2 separate regions of the Homo sapiens genome follow, and region 2 is linked to region 1. Evidence: promoter capture Hi-C in 16 types of primary human blood cells and fetal thymus (Javierre and others, 2016). All regions are on one chromosome and are shown on one strand. The core of a region is centred on a gene start or on the middle of the fragment in contact, and the rest is flanking DNA. Distances in the headings are between cores, read along the strand shown. Region 1 holds the start of DCUN1D5 (defective in cullin neddylation 1 domain containing 5). Region 2 overlaps CEP126 (centrosomal protein 126).

Region 1 (6,432 bases), core at 282-2,781:
TCAGTCGGGCGAGGTGGCTCACTCCTGTAATCCCAGCACTTTGGGAGGCCGAGGCGGGCGGATCGCGAGGTCAGGAGTTCAAGACCAGCCTAGTCAACATAGTGAAACCCCGTCTCTACTAAAAATACAAAAAATTAGCAGGGCGTGGTGGCGGGCGCCTATAATCCCAGCTACTCAGGAGGCTGAGGCAGGAGAATCGCTTGAACCCGGGAGGCGGAGGTTGCAGTAAGCGGAGATCGCGCCACTGCACTCCAGCCTGGACAACAGTGGAAGACTCCGTCTCAGAAAAACAAAACAAAACAAAAAAACAAAAAAACCATTTCTCAAACCAAAATTGCAGTTTTTTTGTAGCATAAATTTTGCTGTGATGCCTCCATGATATGCTACAAGGGGATCAAAGAGCTACTACTATATAGTTCTGCCTTGTCTTCTTTCTTACCAGTAGGACAGAGTACAAGAGCTCACAAATTATTTAATTTATGCTGAGAGCTAACAGCGTCCTGAATGCTAGAAGACAAAAAGCATGCAGGGCCTTTCCAACTCTGCACACAGGGACTTGGCATAGGTGAGGCACTATACTTCCAGAAAATGGGGCTCCTGCAATTTAAAAGGCCTCCTGCTGGGACCTTCCGGGTTAGGCCACTCCAAATACTAAATATGGAGGCCAATTATAGCATACAAGTTTTCCTTTCTACCATTCCCAAGACAGTTGTCAAGATTCCTTATGTTCTGCTTTCTTCACACTCTACAAAGAAATTCTAGAAGTGACCCTTCTGCGGATATGTACTCACTTCTAAGTCTAGAAAAAGGCAGAGGAGCGATACGGGAGTAGGGGATCGAGGGTCGGTTGTGGGGTGGGGGTGGGGGTGGGGGGAAGCGCAATTTACATATGCATCTGTTCCCCACCCTGCAGGGCACGTAGACTCTTAACGTGGGCGGCTCTTCTAGTCTCTCCATAAACGCCAGCGTGCACACACTCGAACACGAGGTCGGGTCGGGCGCGGAGACTCGCGGTGTTCGGCACCTACAGCCTAGCTCGATCAAAGGGGCCTCACCTGTCTCCAGCCCCAGCCCGGCAGGCCGGGCCCGACTCCTTTTCCTCCAGTTGTCCAGCAAAGGAGGGAGGAGGGAAGCTTGAAGGGTGGGGGGAGATGGTACCTGGAGATTTTACACTTTTTGAGGCCTCCGTCTTCCGCTACTGCTGCTGCCACCCCAGGGGATTTTCTCTTCTTCTTCACCGGCATCTTCCGCCCTCCCCGGCAGGGTGGGCAGGGGAGCCGGGGAAGGGGGTCCCTGTCCGCTGGAAGCCCCTCAGCGCTGGCACCCAGTTCCCAGAGACAGCAGCAAGCGGAGGAGCAGAGTCGCCAGCCCGCACCGGCGCGGCCCAGCCCGGCCGCCGCCCGCTCCCAGGTATCCTCGTCGTCTTTCTCTGACCGGGACAGGGCTGGCTCCTCGCCGGTGGACACTGCGGTTCGTTCTCACCGGGAGGAGATAACGCGGACAGCGCGGCAGCTCCACCAGTCACAGCAAGCAAGAGGCTCAGCCTAACCCGGAGGCGAATCGCTGAGGCCCGGAAGTGACGCAATCGCGGAGCCGGTCCCGGGAAGGGGCGTGGTTCCGGTTAGCCTCTGCCACTCGTAGGTAGGCCAGGCAGAGCGAAGCTGTCTGACCCGTCGACTGCGGCAGTCCGCGGAATTCTTGTATCCTGTCCAGGGTATCCTGACCTTTCTCATGAAGCTTCTACCGCGCTCTGATGCTGGCAGTCACCGCCAAAAAGTGAAACTACTAATACTTTGCAGTTGACGTTAAAAACAACCTGGTAAAGTAGACCAAGTTCCACTTCTGAGCTCTTCCACACGATAACCTCACCTGAAGTGTTCCCACCCCGTAAATGCATTGTCACCCTGTGTCTTGCGTGTTTTTTTTATGGGCCTGTGATCAGCCACCCACTCCCCCTTCTCCCTACCTTTGCATATCACTTTGTCCTGTATTGAAACTTAGCTCTGCCATTATTTCCACAGAGCTCACCTCTCCGATAAGAGACAGTAGGTGACTGCGACTCAGTAGAGAGAAATTTGGGGGACAGTTCTAAGGAACCTCCCCCTAGACCCAAAACACACTGTAATCTATTCATCTCCACTTAGGTGGAAATACTGTTTTTAAATAATGGTTATTGTATGTAAAGACATAGTAGAAAGTCGTTAGTAATTCTGTTGGTAAAATAATCTCTGCAAACCAACTGTGATGGGAGAAGACTAAAAGTCTTTGAGTAATAGTTGAAGTGGTTCCTGTGAAACTACCCTCACAATGGCACCCTAATCTGGTCAATCCGAATATCATATTTCCTTAGTGTTATTAATTGGTTCAGGATGGACACATACTCAGGCCAGGCCAATGAGTGCCAATGACACAAAATTGAACCACCAGAAAGCAATTTTATTTCCTATGGATTTGAACCAGAGAAGGTATGGAGAATGAAGCCAAAACTCAGAAGAGACTAGTATCAAGCAGAAAAATAGAAAAACCAGGATGTGATTATATGATATGAGCCCAAAATCCATGATATGCCCTGGAATTTTCACTTATGTGAAGCAACAAATTTCACTATTTTGCATATTTAGTTCAATTCTCTGTTACTTAAAACCAAAAGAATGTCAAAGTATATGATCCTTCAACCCATTTAAAAATGCCTGAGGCCAAAATCAAAACAGAATCAGATAAAGTCTCTAAATAGAACTACCATCTACAAAAAGTACAGGACAGAGGAACATGTTAAATACCCAATGCAATCAGCAATATCTAGACGTCAGAAAAGTCTACAGGACAATGACCCAAATTCTGCAACAAATTATTAGGACGAGAGGAGAGAGAAGGAAATTAAAAGACTTAAAGGATATGTCAATCATTTTCAGTATGCAGTTCTTATTTGAATTTGACTCACACAAACAGTTTAAACAATATGATAACATCTCTGTGGCAATTGGAGATGTTAATGCTGGCTGGATATTTGATGAAATTCTAGAACATGTAAAACTTACTTATAGCAATGGCATATCAGTGACACTTGGGGACAGGGATGGAGTAAGCCGGGGAAGACTGACTGCAAAGAAACACAAGGGAACTTTTTGGGTAATGAACATATTCTATGTCTTGATTGAAGTAATAGTATATATACTTGTCAAAATTCATTGAATTGTACACTTAAAAATTGATATTTTTATGCATATTCTTCCTAAATAAAATTTATATAAAATGTGCAAAACAAAACACAAAATAAATGATAATGACAAAACTATTAGAGATAGCCAAACTTATTTCTTCAACTGGTGAGCTGCAAAAGCTAAACAGCCCCTTTTCCCAAGGAGGACCAAAGAAATGGAATAAAACCTAAAGGATAGAAAGAAAGATCTCAGAGGATGATGTTAAAGGGGTGTCCTTCCACAGAGTAGAATCAGGGCCTGATCAAAGAGTAGGGAATTTCATAATGCCTGTCTTGCAGGCTACCAGCATTGCTATAGACCAAAGACCACTGCACATCTCATCTTCTGTTCTTTTTTAAATAGGAATTTTTTTATTGTGATAATTGTGTCCCTTCTTCACCATTATTTATTGGGCGAGAGTGGGAAGTAGATTATTGCTTCTTAGTTCATAGGCCATTGGACCATAAGGAATCACTTTCGAACTAAGGAAGACCCCACTATACCTGGAAATCCTGGACATTGAGCTGAATGCAGTAACTGGATAGGAGCTTACTCACACCCATAGAATACTCTGAGAAAAAGACAAAAGGCTGGATCTATGTGTGGTATTCATTTAGTCTATCTATTCAAAAAATATTTAATCATCACTTCAACCAGGAGCTTTACTGGGCTTAAGAATATAAAAGGCAGACATGACTCCTGCAATCATGGAGCTGCCAGTCTGGAGGGAGAAATACAGTCATGCACCACGTAATGACATTTTGGTCAAGATGTGCATATGCGATGATAGTCCCTTAAGATTATAATACTGTATTTTTACTGTGCCTTTTCTATGTTGAGGTATGTTGAGATACACAAATACAATTGTGTTAAAATTGCCTACAGTATTCAGTACAGTACCATGCTGTACAGGTTTGTAGCCTAGGATCTATAGGCTGTACCGTATAGCCTAGATGTGTAGTAAGCTATATCATCCAGGTTTGTATAAGTACACTCTGTGATGTTCACACAATGATGAAACTGCCTAATGACACATTTCTCAGAATGTATTCCTGTCAATAAGCAATATATGACTCTATGTATGCTATCTGCATTTAAGAGAATTATATGAATAGGAATTAGGGTTCATAATCTATGCTTGTCAATGATATTAAAGGGATGGCAATTTCTGGGTCATGTAGACCATTCTCATCCATCTACCTCTTCATTCTCTTGTCTGGTCAGTACCTACTGCTACTGCCAAAACTCCATTCCCAAAAGTTGGCTCTTCATCATCCCAATTACTCTCACAAAGGGGCATATTGATAGCCTTGCTACCTATGAGAAGTATAGAAATGCCTAGTTATGTGGCTTTAATATTTTCCGCTGCTCACCAATGCATACATAGTACATGATTTTGCATCAAAAAGATGCCTCTAATACAGAAACAAACTATGACAGAGTACTGTGGCTCTCTGGCGTGCAGTAGAATTTTTTAAATGAAGGTAATGACAAGGAAGGGAGGGATGAAGTAGTTACCTCAAGCAGAAGCCTGTGTGTTCTGGTTTCAGATCCAAAGAAGACACTCAAGTGACTTTAGGAAAGGCAGATAATTTCCTTTATCTTTCATCTTATCCTACTATTATACAGAAGGATGTAGGAAAAAAACAACAATAATAATACTTATGCTGAATAGGGAAGTAATTAAGCAAGAAGACTGAGACCCAGTTCTATTATCTATTTGGCATCTTGGTCACATATACATCCCTTAGCTTTTGGGAGTTATAAAACAAAGCCATGAAAAACATCTTTTAAAATAGTTATATCTCTGTCAAGGTATCCAAAAATAGTACTCTAAGATGTGTTAATTTATATATTCCGTACATAGTTTAGTTTTTCTTAACACCTCTTTAAAATAGGACTTTCCTACTTGGGAGAATAACAAGCAACACAGACATTAAGTGATTTATGGGATGCCGCGTTATTGTGGTCCTGGATCTGTGCAGATGCTCTCCCTTCCATATATTAATGTTGATTTTTAAAACAGCATTGTAGTTAAAAATTTTCTGAAATGTTTTCATGCACATAAATCTACAGAAAGATAACTCTAAGAGAATAGTAGAAATGGGATGTCAAGACAGGATTTTTTGTTTTGGCATTTCAGTATAGCCTACAAGAACTCCTTGTGTTTTAGAGAGGCCCAGAGGTGCAGAACTGTGTAACACATGACACTTACCCCCTACACCCTAAAGCGGTGTGCCAGACCACATCAATTTTAGCTTGGCTGTGACTGTGGTTCACTCTGGGATCTAGACTGAGGGAACAGTCACTACCTAGAACACTGCTTGTCATCATGACAGAGAGAAAGAACAACATGGTAAATCCCATGCTGCCTCTTGAGGATTCTGCCCCGAAGTGACACATTAATCCTGTTCAAGTCATATGGCTACACCTGAGGTCACGAGGGCAGGAATGTATGATCCCCCTGCAGAGAGAAACATCAAGTAAAGGTAAATACAGCCTACTACAGTAAGAGACTGGACTGAAATTTTGTTCAAAGCATAGGGAAAAATGAGTTCACAGTGCAGTTTTAAAGAGGCAGTAGGAAAAAGCATAAGATTGGTTTCAGCTTATACCTCACCGTGGCAGTTTATATTCTTCAAAGGTGGTCACAGCAATATCTCTCATCCCACATATTCTAGAAACTTACCATTTCCTATCAAAAAGTGAAGTCTAGTTGAAAAAAAAAATCAATATTGGTTCATTCATTGTGGGAAATGTACCATACCAATGTAAGACATTAGTAATAGGGGAAACTGGGTGTGGGATATATGAGCAGTTTCTGTAGTATCATTGCAATTTTTCCACAAAATTAAAACTCTTCTAAAATAAATTATTAAAAAGTCACAGTGAATGGGAAAAAATAAAATTTAGAAAATAGTAAAGTACAGGAAGAAAGAGTAATGATTCAAAGGAGCTGCCTAGGTTGGATGCTTTTGGAAAGGTAAGAATCGAAAAAATTCTGGATGTGGGATCATAGGTAGAAAGCAATGTCTTGTATATCAGCTGGCCAAGGACAGAGCAATTTCAACTTGAAACCTAACCAGGAAGACTAAGAACAAGTGCTCAGGTGGGAAATTGTATTAAGCAGTACACCTGATTTGCTTTCCCATATGTGAATATGTACCCCAAATGAAGAAAAGTAGTTCAGGCCAGGTGCCGTGGCTCATGCCTGTAATCCCAGGACTTTGGG
Region 2 (6,426 bases), core at 3,350-5,849, 1.2 Mb before region 1:
ATTATTCTTGGTTTTGTTTTTTTAATGTTAAGTATATAAAAATTCCCTTCTTTTGGACAGGTATTTAGCAGTGTTTTTTTTATGGAACTCCTACCTTTACCATACAGCTTGTATAAAAAAACAAAATTTAACCAGCCATCTAATTTTTTTAAACTTGAATACCATATTTGAAATGATACAAAAGCAGCAGGATTCTTTATATTAATAATTAATAATTCAGCAGGAAACATACTATACTATTATACTTATATATAAAGAAAGTAGAAAATCATTTGGTTAAATTGAAGACTATATAGTTGTCAGAACATTACAAACATTACATTTGTGATTTTCTTTATGCTGTCGTGATGAGACTTCAAACATGTCAAACAGAGAACAGAACTGTCTCCTCCTTGCTTCTCACTTAAGCCAAAGCATCTTCCTCCCCTCAACCTCATGTTGGCCCTGTGCACCCTGAAAGGAAGTTGCACTTTTCTTTACTGCCGAGTTGTCACTTTTAATACCTAGACATCTTGTTGAAGTCTGGCTCTTGTTAAAATATTCTATCAGAGAAAAACAGTTTTTCTGTGCTAGCAAAGAACCAAATTTTCTTCCCTTTTGGTTTGATTTTTATAAATCCTTTAAAAGAAATCTTTAAGTAAAAATATGTTTGTGAGTGTGTTTGGGTCTTTGTCTTGAAGTAGTGTAAAATTTTATTTAAAATGAAGGTAAAATGAATTATGGCCTATGGTATAAAGATGGTTAAATAGCAACACAAAAGAAAACAAATAAGCCCCCATCAGCAAAGGTCTAAACAACAAAATGTTCAAATAAACCTGTTATTCTGAAATATGTAATAATAGAGTTTCTTTATAATATTGATGCTGAAGCACTATAGGATCCTGAAATTAACATGTTGAATTAACAAATTATGTACCGCATAGTTTATTATTGAGTGTATTTCTAGTATTCTGTTTTACCATTAATAATCAATTTATGAGATTTTTACAATCTTGATTAAATGCAGCCTTTAAAGAGAATTTTGGACCTCCATCTTAGCGTAAAAAGTTTTTAAACAAGCTGTTTGTTCTAAAAAAGACAAATAGATATGCCCTACAATCTATAACTTCAGTATAATCTCATATATTTCTACATCTAATGATGAGGTACTAAATGTGATTACACGGTAATTCAATGAACTTTTTTTTTTTTTTTTGAGACAGAGTCTCGCTGTGTTGCCCAGGCTGGAGTATAGTGGCGTGTTCTTAGCTCACTGCAGACTCAACCCCCTCCAAGCTCAAGCGATCTTCCCACATCAGCCTCCCAAGTAGCTGGGGCTGCAGGCATACACCACCACACCTGGCTGATTTTTGCATTTTTTGTAGAGCCGGGGTTTCACCATATTGCCCAGGCTCATCTCAAACTCCTGGGCTCAAGCAGTCTGCCCACCTTGGCCTCCCAAATTGTTGGGATTACAGGTGTGAGCCACTGCGCCCAGCCAAATGAACTTCTTTTAATTCAAAATCATTAAAAACAGAAGACTCATGAAAAACAGAAAATTACTCTGACAAATTTGATAAAGATACTTAATAATGTCAATTAAAACGCAACTAAATAAATTGGAGAAATTACTCATATTGCTACAACTTATTTAAGGAGAGTTTAATTTTATAAAATAAATTTCAAGTGAATAGATGATTAGGATAACCAAAATATTCCTCTTTTTCTCTGACAAGCTTCTGGATACACAGATGACTATACATAGTTTTCCTAGTGGTTTTTTATAACCACTAAGTCACTAAGTAAATAACTAAACTGTATTCCTAACCATTCTAGTTATATTGCTATTTGATTGTTTAATATTTGAAAATGTACTTTCCTACTATAGATTAAGGGATCTGGTGAAACATTTACTCCATCTACTTTCTATTAGTAAAATACAATCTTCTTATTTCATTTTCTTATATTCATGACTATGAGGGCAACTTGTTAGTAAGTACTCAAATATCTGTGTAATGAGGCCAAGCACGGTGGCTCACGCCTGTAATCACACCACTATGGGAGGCCGAGGCAGGTGGATCACCTGAGGTTAGGAGTTCGAGACCAGGCTGACCAACATGGTGAAACCCCGTCTCTACTGACAATACAAAAATTGACTAGGTGTGGTGGCACATGCCTGTAGTCCCAGCTACTTGGGAGGCTGAGGCAGAAGAATCACTTGAACCCAGGAGGCAGAGGTTGCAGTGAGCTAAGATCATGCCACTGCACTCCAGCCTGGGCAACAGAGTGAGACTCTGTCTCAAAAAAAAAAAAAAAAAAACTGTGTAATGAATGAAGATATACAGTCCTCTTTATCTGAAGTTCATGATTTCTTTTTTTTTTTTTTTTTTTTTTTTTGAGATGGAGTTTCGCTTTTGTTGCCCAGGCTGGAATGCAGTGGCGCAATCTCGGCTCACTGCAACCTCTGCTTCCCAGGTTCAAGAGATTCTCCTGCCTCAGCCTCCTGAGTAGTTGAGATTACAGGTACCCGCCACCACGCCCGCCTAATTTTTGTGTTTTCAGTAGAGACAGGTTTCACCGTGTTGGCCAGGCTGGTCTCAAACTCCTGACCTCAGGTGATCCACCCGCCTCAGCCTCCCAAAGTGTTGGGATTACAGGTGTGAGCCACCGCGCCCAGCCTGAGCTCATGATTTCTAAAAGTAGATTTTTTTTCTCCAGGAAAAGTGAGCTATATCTTACTTTCTAATACCAAGTCAGAATTTTTTTTTTTTTTTTTGAGATGGAGTCTTGCTCTTGTCACCCAGACTGGAGTGCAATGGCACAACCTTGGCTCACTGCAACCTCCGCCTCCCGGGTTCAAGCGATTCTCCTGCCTCAGCCTCCCAAGTAGCTGGGAATACAGGCATGCACCACCACGTCCAGCTAATTTTTGTATTTTTAGTAGAGACGGGGTTTTGCCACGTTGGCCAGCCGGGTCTTGACCTACTGACCTCGTGATCTTTCTGCCTCAGCCTCCTAAAGTGATGGATTACAGGTGTGAGCCACCGCACCCAGCCCCGAATTTTTTTTACATAAAATGTTTGCCAGTCATATACTAATGTGGGCACATACTAATTATTCCACAAAAACTATCATTACATCATTTGCATGAGGCTGTAGTTATATTTATCATATAGCACTGACAGTCATCCACTAAAGATGTAGACCATTGTTCTTAACTTAATGCTATCATTAGAGATATGAAAATCCATCTGGAGAAAAATTTAGAAGAAGAGCGCCAGATATTACTGCAGCAACAAAAAATATGTCGAAATCGAGCACGTAAATATTTTGTGGAGTCAAATCGGAGAAAAAAGTAAGTAATTGCACTTTATTCAGAAGTATAGAAATTCAAAGTCAATATAAAGTAATAGTTTCTCTACTTTGTAGCACTTTATGAAACTAAGTCATGGCAGTGTTATCTGTGAAACATTGATCAAGATTTGTGTGGCTTTGTAAATTTTATTATTGTTTTCCTTCCCAAAGCACAAGGGTGGTGGTGTATTATCTAGGTCTCTGACAGTAGCAGTCTTTTTTTGTCATAGAACAGCTTATTGCATTGTCATATACACTTCTTAAAATGACTATGAAATGTATTATCTTCTTTTTTTGTATCATTTCATGATTTCATGATGATTTTAAAATTACCAATTAATATTTAGTCTTTTGGTATATAGTTTGAGTTTAATTTGTTATTCACTTCTATATAATTTTTCTATATCTGCCACTTTTCATTCGTTCAATCTGAAAAATTGGAAAAAATATGAATAATGGTATAAAAATTGGAAAAATATGAATAATGGTAGCAATATGAATAACAGTAGAAGTGGTAGAAATGTTTTATAAGTGAATGCTAGAAAAAGGAGCTTTCTAGGGTAAACTAGAAACTATAGTAAAGAAAAAGTACAAATTGTTCAATCACTGCTTAACATTTTTCAGGATGTTTTTTAAATATTAGGCTTTTTTTGAGACAGAGCAGTTATGCCATTTTTTAATTGTTGTTTTTGCTACCTTGTCCATATTTCTACAATATATGAATAGCAGAAAATCCCTAGACTTTATTAACTACATCACTGGGCATATGTTAACAAATCCCATTTGGGGAATAAAAAATTGTTTACCTGTAATTTTTGCCTGGCATTATGTTTCTCTTCAGATTAACTTTTTTATTGTCTGATGTAGTTGAAATTATTTACTGAAATTTAGAATTTTATTTTGTATGCATAGGTTTCTGCTTTTCTCCTACCTTTGGGCTCCTGGCATCTATAAACGGCGTGTGACAGGTGTTCAGTAAAGATGAATAATCATATGTTGAAAGAGTAATGGACTTTGGAGTCAGAGATCTAGGAAATACTAGCTCTATGAATTAAAGGATGTCTGTTTAATGTCTTTAAGCCTCAGTTTTCTCATTTATGATTGGAATTAATTACATCTATTTCAAGGGATTTTGGTGTAGAGCAGAAAGGGTAGAAATAAAGTGGAATATTTGAGAATACATGTAAAAATATCAGTGTCTGACACATAGGACTTCTTATTTTTTATTATTAATGTTTATCAGTTGTTTATTTTACAATAATCAACTTTAATAGCAAGCCTTTATGGAATTTTATTAATAAATTTTCTATTTGTATTCTCTCATCAAATGTAAGAATTCTTATGTAGAAAATAACAGAAAAGAAATCTTGGTTTAAAATTCTAAGAGGCAGGACATTTTCCAATACAATATTATTGTGTTTTATTTTCCGTTACCCTAAAGTGCAATGTAAAGATACATAAACATTTCTTTTAAAACACTAATCATTTGTCTCTGTATTTCACCTTTTATAAGGGGGCTGAATTATTTGTGCACATCCGAATTTCAGAAGCTGTCTATGATTATGGTCTTCTTAACCATGCCATTGTCTATCAATTTATACTTTACATCATTTAAGTTTATGCTGTCCACTTACATTGTGGTCACAGAGGATTTTTTTGTTTTGTTGTTGTTTTGGGGCTGTGTGTGTGTGTGTGTGTGGTTTTTTGTTTTGTTTTGTTTTTTTGAGATGGAGTCTCACTCTGTCACTCAGGCTGGAGTACAGGGGCACAATCTCAGCTCACTGCAACCTCCGCCTCCCAGATTCAAACGATTCCCCTGCCTCAACCCCCCGAATAGCTGGGATTACAGGCACGCACCCCCGTGCCCGGCTAATTTTTTTGTGTTTTTCATAGAGACAAGGTTTCGCCATGTTGGCCAGGCTGGTCTTGAACTCCTGACCTCAAGTGATCCTCCCATCTCAGCCTCCCAAAGTGCTGGGATTATAGGTGGTTTTGGGTTTTTTTTTTAAATAGTATTTTCTTCAGGTAGAGACAGTCTCCTGCCATTTGTCAGTTATACATTGACATTGTCAGTGTTATGTGTCCAGCAGAAGTCAAAGGAAAATGTTCCTAGCATCAAGTTCTCTTTATTTTCATTAGTTGCTTTAAATCACACACATTTTTATTTTCTTATTATTTATTGCATTTCTATTAGCCAATATTTTTCTTGCATTGTATGCTTTTATCACATCCTCAAGTTTTCCATTCTCTCAGTCAGTATCTATACAATGGAGTCCCCTTTGTTTCCCTCCAAGTCCCCTTTGTTTCCGGCTCCAGTAGATGCTGGTTATCTTTTAGGCCTATTGCACAACTGGCATCCCAGAACTTTCTTTTATTGCTCTTAGGAGTTGGAGCCATAATTTTTTGCCTCTCATAGCATCCCTTTGTTTGTTTGTTCTTTGTATTCCATTAGTTTGCTGGAGTACATCCTCAAGTTACTTTCTAATATGCTTCTTTGTAGACCAAGGAATTTTGAGATACACACACAGAAAGGAAATAAACTGGCTTATTTCCTGCTTTTTCAGTCCACCAACCAGAACTATCTTTTGGTAAATACGTGAATGGGCATTTATTCACTCAACATGGAGAATTCAGTGAGCACAAATGATTCAACATTATGTCAGGAAAAGAATTTATTTTGTTAATCTGTTCTACCAGTAAACTTTAGAAAAGTTTACCGGCAATTATCTGGCCGGGCGTGGTGACTCACACCTGTAATCCTAGCACTTTGGGAGGCTGAGGTGGGTGGATCACGAGGTCAGGAGTTCAAGACCAGCTTGGCCAAGATGGTGAAACCTCGTCTCTACTAAAAATACAAAAACTAGCCAGGTGTTGTGGCGGGTGCCTATAATCCCAGCTACTCAGGAGGCTGAGGCAGAGAATTGCTTGAGCTCAGGAGGCAGAGGGTGCAGTGGCGTGACCTCGGCTCACCACTATCTCCACCTCCTGGGTTCAAGCAATTCTCCCTGCTTCAGCCTCCCAAGTAGCTGGGATTACAGGCGCCCGTCACCATGCCCGGCTAATTTTTGTATTTTTAGTAAAGACGGGGTTTCG

Evidence for each region. The method cuts DNA at HindIII sites, captures the fragments that hold promoters and counts their contacts. A CHiCAGO score of 5 or more calls a contact.
Region 2: a contact is called between a fragment that was not itself captured here and the fragment with the promoter of DCUN1D5 in region 1, in 1 of 17 cell types (total CD4 T cells). The highest score is 5.1, in total CD4 T cells.

The regions. Positions count from the first base shown.
Region 1 is chr11:103,090,629-103,097,060 of GRCh38, forward strand. It overlaps DCUN1D5 (defective in cullin neddylation 1 domain containing 5), which reads right to left and starts at 1,532. Exons shown (of 8, transcript NM_032299.4): 1 at 1,159-1,532. The coding sequence starts at 1,244. RefSeq lists enhancers at 652-1,269, 1,270-1,887, 1,817-1,866, 1,937-1,986 and a silencer at 832-1,126. The HindIII fragment of the contact is 604 bases long and covers 1,132-1,735 here.
Region 2 is chr11:101,919,427-101,925,852 of GRCh38, forward strand. It overlaps CEP126 (centrosomal protein 126), which reads left to right. Exons shown (of 11, transcript NM_020802.4): 2 at 3,215-3,334. Among named protein-coding and RNA genes, the nearest start is that of ANGPTL5, 6.1 kb to the left of the region's middle. The HindIII fragment of the contact is 5,772 bases long and covers 1,714-6,426 here.